Regions from separate parts of the Homo sapiens genome. Here region 2 is linked to region 1. The links are contacts of gene promoters, found by promoter capture Hi-C in blood cells and fetal thymus (Javierre and others, 2016). All regions are on one chromosome and are shown on one strand. The core of a region is centred on a gene start or on the middle of the fragment in contact, and the rest is flanking DNA. Distances in the headings are between cores, read along the strand shown.

The links. The method cuts DNA at HindIII sites, captures the fragments that hold promoters and counts their contacts. A CHiCAGO score of 5 or more calls a contact.
Region 2: a contact is called between a fragment that was not itself captured here and the fragment with the promoter of RSL1D1 in region 1, in 4 of 17 cell types (neutrophils, naive CD8 T cells, naive CD4 T cells and 1 more). The highest score is 7.9, in neutrophils.

What each region holds. Positions count from the first base shown.
Region 1 is chr16:11,850,170-11,852,869 of GRCh38, forward strand. It overlaps RSL1D1 (ribosomal L1 domain containing 1), which reads right to left and starts at 1,373. Exons shown (of 9, transcript NM_015659.3): 1 at 1,239-1,373; 2 at 110-249. The coding sequence starts at 1,343. RefSeq lists enhancers at 535-1,734, 1,507-2,041, 2,042-2,575 and a silencer at 1,303-1,489. The HindIII fragment of the contact is 5,793 bases long and covers 1-2,700 here.
Region 2 is chr16:11,403,869-11,406,568 of GRCh38, forward strand. It overlaps LOC400499 (putative uncharacterized protein LOC400499), which reads right to left. Exons shown (of 67, transcript NM_001370704.1): 48 at 836-998. Among named protein-coding and RNA genes, the nearest start is that of RMI2, 60 kb to the left of the region's middle. The HindIII fragment of the contact is 554 bases long and covers 1,067-1,620 here.

The DNA of each region.
Region 1 (2,700 bases), core at 123-2,622:
TTTTATTATAAGTTTGCAAAGTTTCCATTAGTAACCATGATGCAATTGTTCGAGTTACAAAGAATAAACACACAGATAAAAACAGCAAAGGTAGAAAATCACAACTTACAATCTGACCCTCAGTTCTTTACTTGGAATTTTCCATAATACCACCATTAAAAATAAACTTTCATTCTCATTCAAAAGCAACCCATAATTGTTTTTCCTGGACTTGCAATGCGTCAAGAGAGCGTCCACTGCCTTTCTAACCTGCAAAGTGGAAATTAGACAAATAAGTGAAATGTTTTCACAATAACTTACACAAATAAATGAAATGTTCTCAATCTAATTTAGCATTTGCCCCCTCCCACACCTTCTATTTTTTCCCTTCCAACTTCTATTTCAAGGGGTAACCTCCATAACCGTATCTATTAGGATCCTGCAGTTTATATTCACAGAAATCTAAGAATCCATCAAACATGCCTAAGTACCCACTTCCAGTACTGTGTGCAGAAGGGCACCTCTTCTACTTAAAGAGATTGGGCTAGAGGGAAACGTGCCCCTCCTGCCCTCAATGATGAAAGCAGTAATCCCAGGAAAAACGCAAAGCAAAATGCATTTAGCATTTACTGAGAACTCCTGGCAATTCTCCTGCCTCAGCTTCCCGAGTAGCTGAGATTACAGGCGCCCGCCACCACGCCCACCTAATTTTTGTATTTTTAGTAGAGACGGGGTTTCACCATGTTGGCCAGGCTGGTATCGAACTCCTGACCTCAGGTGATCCACCCGCCTCGGCCTCCAAAAGTGCTGGGATTACAGGCGTGAGCCACCGCGCCCGGCCTACTGAGCACCTTCTTACCATGTACCAGGCCAAAGCGCTTTACACTCATTACCTCTCCCGATCCTGGATAACGGGGAGCCGAAGGGCCCACTTTAAATAACGGGTAACAGACCTGCAAAACTAAGCGATTCGGTCAAGCGCTAATGATAGGGAAGCTAAGCCAGGTCGCCAGGTCTATCTCATCTAGCTCCACAGCACACTTGCAACCCAATTCACTAGCGCCAGGCCGCAGGACCAGGGAAAGCAGGCGCCCACCCACGTGTGTAAAGGGGAGAGACAGCTGAGGCACACGGCCCGCCAGCGACCGTCCCACAGCCCCGGGGAAGTCCGCCGAGCACGCACTCGGGTTCCGGCACCCTGCGCCTCACGAGGTAACCGCCACACTGCTTCCAAGCCACCCTCCCCAGGAACCACTCACCTGTTCTTTATCCAGCTGCTTCCGTGCTGTCGGGGCCGCTGGAGTCGAGGTGGAGGTTCCAGTAGCGGCTGCAGAAGACAGCGAGGCCGAGGCCGAATCCTCCATCTTGTTTCCACCTCGTGAAGAGGCGCGTGTGCAACCCCACTGCTGGCTTCTGGTGCGCACGCGCGAGCAAGCCCGGCCCCGGAAGCGAGGGGGCGGGAACCGAGCCTCTGTGCGTCATTTCCGGGAGAGCGTGGGGTTTCGCTCTCCGGGGCAGTGGCTGCTGTCAGAATCCCTTCTTTGAGGAGGCACCTGCTCTTCCGCTTTTCTCCAGCTTTCCATGAGCTGTGGGGAGTAGCTTGGGTGTCCTCTCACTCTTACTAGATAGAAATCAAGAAAGCGCCTTGAGGCGAGAGAAGAGTCCCGTCAGGAGGCCCAGTGGGGTCCTCCACACTCCACGGTCCCCGCCTCCGGGAAGGCCGCGCGTGGCATGGGCAGAGCGCGGAATCCTGGCTCCACTGCCCACCTGCCCGTTGACTTTAGGCGACGCCAACCCCAGGCTGGTGAGGAGTCCCTGAAATATAAGGCACGGGAGCCACCCGGAGCCACCCGACCTGCCACGTTAAGCAGCATGAGGGACCGAAAGATGAGTCTGGGCCAGTCTCTTAGGAGCTTCTGGTCTCGCAGAGAGGCGGGAGGTAAGATCCTGTACAAATAAGCGTGGCTGGTCGTGCGCGTGGCTGGCGTCTGGAATCCCAGCGCTCTGGGAGGCCGAGGCGGAGGGATTCCAGGAGTTGGAGACCAGTCCGTGCATATACGAGACTCCGTCTCTCCAAAAATTATAAACATTAGCCGGCGTGGTGGTGCGCGCCTGTAGTCCCGGCTACTTGGGAGGCGGAGGATGGAGGATCTTGAGGAATTCGAGGCTCGGTGAGTTCTGATCCGCGCCACTGCACTCCAGCGTAGGCAGTAGAGTGAGACCTTGTCGCTAAACAAACAGGTTAGGAGTGGAGGCTGGATAACTGACAAATGGAATACCTTAGAACAGGGGAGTCCAATCTTTTGGCTTCCGTGGGCCACACTGGAAGAAGAATTGCCTGGGCCCATATATAAAACTAATACTAATGATAGCCGACGAGCTTTAAAAAAAAAATCTAAAAAAAATCTCGTAATGCTTTAAGGAAGTTTACGAATTCGTGTTGGGCTGTATTCAAAGCCTGGCCTCCAGGGCCGCACGCGGCCCTTGGGTAGGACAGGTTTGCTTTGTAATGTCTTCCTCCCACTCCACCCGCCTCCCCAGAGGTACCCTTACCAGTGTCTCCTGGAACCTTCCAGAGATGTTCTAGGCATGTTTAGGAGATACTTCTCCTTTCTCTTGTTGGATGGGTTTAATTAATTTTTTTCCTTTTTTTTTTTTTTTTTTTTGTAATGGAGTCTCGCTCTGTCGCACAGGCTGGAGTGCAGTGGCACGATCTGGGCT
Region 2 (2,700 bases), core at 94-2,593, 450 kb before region 1:
TGGCCCCTTCTCCCTGCCCGGCTGCACTCAGGATAAGCCCCAGCTCCTCTCTATGAGCTGAGACGCTGCATGACCTGGGTCCCCCAGCCCTCCTGCCTCGCCTCATCCCTTCTCCCCATTCCAGCCATGCTAGCCCCGCAGCTGCTGCTCCACATGCAAACCTCATTTCCAAGTGGGGCCTTCCGCCTGAAGTGCCTCTGCTCAGATCTGCCAGCTCCTTCTCATCCTTCAGAACTCAGTTCAGAAGTCACCTCCTCCAAGAGGCCTTCCCAGACCACCCCACCTAAAGGAGGCCCACACCCCACAAAGACCCTGCTTGCTCTCACAGCCTTTCCCACTCGTGGAAATGGTCATGCTTGACGTTATTTTGCTTATGTGCATCTTGTTGCTCAATGCCTGTCTCCCTGAGGGGTGACACCTGGGCCATCTTGCTTCCTGATGGACCCCTGGTGCCTAGATTACACCTGGGATATGCAGGTGCTCAGTCATGGCTTTTTTGAGACCGAGTCTCACTCTCGCTCAGGCTGGAATGCACTGGCTCAATCTCGGCTCTCTGCAACCTCTGCCTCCCAGGTTCAAGCGATTCTCCTGCCTCAGCCTCCCAAGTAGCTGAGATTGTAGGTGCCTGCCACCATGCCTGGCTAATTTTTGTATTTTTAGTAGAGATGGGGTTTCACCATGTTGGCCAGGCTGGTCTCAAACTCCTGACCTCGAGTGATCTACCCACCTCGGCCTCCCAAAGGGCTTGGATTACAGGCATGAGCCACCGCGCCTGGCCAGGGATGATTTCTTGAGTGACTGGGCCACCCCTGCCTGCAGCCCCTCACACACTCACCCTGCAGGCTGAGGTTCCTGGTGGGCTTGGGGAAAGGCCCAGAAAGGCTCCCGGTGAGGGCCACCTCCTGGCCATCCCACAGCACCACCTGGCGCAGGACACGGGTCCCATGAGCTCGCTCGTATGCGGTCTGCAGGAACAGCTCCCTGGGAAGAGCGCTGAGCTGGAAGAGAATGACGGCGTCATGGGGGAACCCGACCCATGCTTCTGCCTGGGATGGGAAAGAAGAGAAGCTTGCAGAGGAGGAAAAAGGGAATATTTGTGGATCATTTACAGTTTCCTGAATGGTGACATATGTCAGGGGATCAAAAACCCAAATGCTTCCTAAGGATGAGCAGATAATTTAAAGGAGAGGAGTAGGTGAGGGGAGTATGGCCAACAGGAGACAGCACAGAACAGCCACTTCTCAATTCCATGGCCAAGCTGTGTGGCTCTGGGCATTTTTCAACCTCTCTGAGCCTCAGTTTCCTAGAAAATGGAGGCCAGAAAGTGTCAACCTTTGCAAGATGATACAAGTGGTGCACTCAGCCCAGGGCTACACGGTGGAGAGGAGCTTGTAGGAGGCACGCAGTTGGTATTGCGGTTTCTCAATCATGTAGCGAGCAGGTATCATGCTCCCAAGCCAGTGCTGAGTGCCTGGGTACAAAGCTAGCCAAGACCTGGTCCTGGCCCTTAAGGGGCTCCCAGGGAGATAGTCGAGATAGTCACAGGACAGAAAATGATGGGATAAGGTGACAAGGATGGTCACAAGAGACATTCAAGGGAGAAAGGAACGCAGAGAAGCAAGCTTGGGGAGGAGGCAGGGAAGAGCATTCTAGGCAGATGGAAGAGCCTGTGCAAAGGTTCGGAGAGGGACGCCGTCCCTGCTGGTGGGTGCCACAGTCCGAGGGTGACTTGAGGGCACTGCAGGGGGACTGCTGGGGTGGGGAAGGAAGTTTGCTCTTAAACGTCTCTAAAACCTATCACTACTGCCCCCAGCTTGGTCCACGCATTATTATTGCCCTGCCCCTGCCCATTATGGGGCTTCCTCACTGCTCACTTCTGCCACCTGTAGGTCCCTCCCCACACAGCAGCCAGAGGGATCTGAAATCATCATTTATTTGATCATGGCTTCAAAGGCTTCTAGTAGCAGATAGAACACAATGCAAACGCCTCCCTGTGGCCTGACTGACCCTGTGTGATCAGACCACCTCCTACCATTCCCCACCCACCCAGCTCCAGCCCAGTGGCTCCTTGGCCATTCCTAAAACATGCAAACCCATCCCTGCCCCAGGCCCTTTGCATGTCTTGTTCCCTCTGCCTGGAATACTCTTTTTAAAAAATGTATTTTAGATTGAGGGGGTCAGTGTGCATGTTTGTTACATAGGTATATTGTGTAATGGTGGGGACTGGGCTTCCAGCGTCCCTGTCACCCAAATATCGAACATCATACCAGGCAGGTAATTTTCCAACCCTTGGCTCCCTCTCACCCTCCTCCCTTTTGGAGCCCTCAGTGTTTACTGTTTCCATCTTTATGTCCATGTGTATTCAATGTTTAGCTCCTGCTTACAAGTGAGAACATGTGATACTGGGTTTTCTGTTTCTGAGCTAGTTCACTTAGGATAATTGCATCCCTGCTGCTGCAAAGGACAGAATTTCATTCTTTTTTCCGGCTGTGTAATATTCCATGGTGTATATATACCACAGTCTCTTTACCTGCCTCGAATGCCCCTCCCCCAGAGATTTCTTTTTTCTTTTCTTCCTTTTGAGATGGAGTTTCACTCTTGTCACCCAGGCCGCAGTGCAACGGCGCAATCTCGGCTCACTGCAACCTCCACATCCTGGGTTCAAGCAATTCTCCTGCCTCAGCCTCCAAAGTAGCTGGG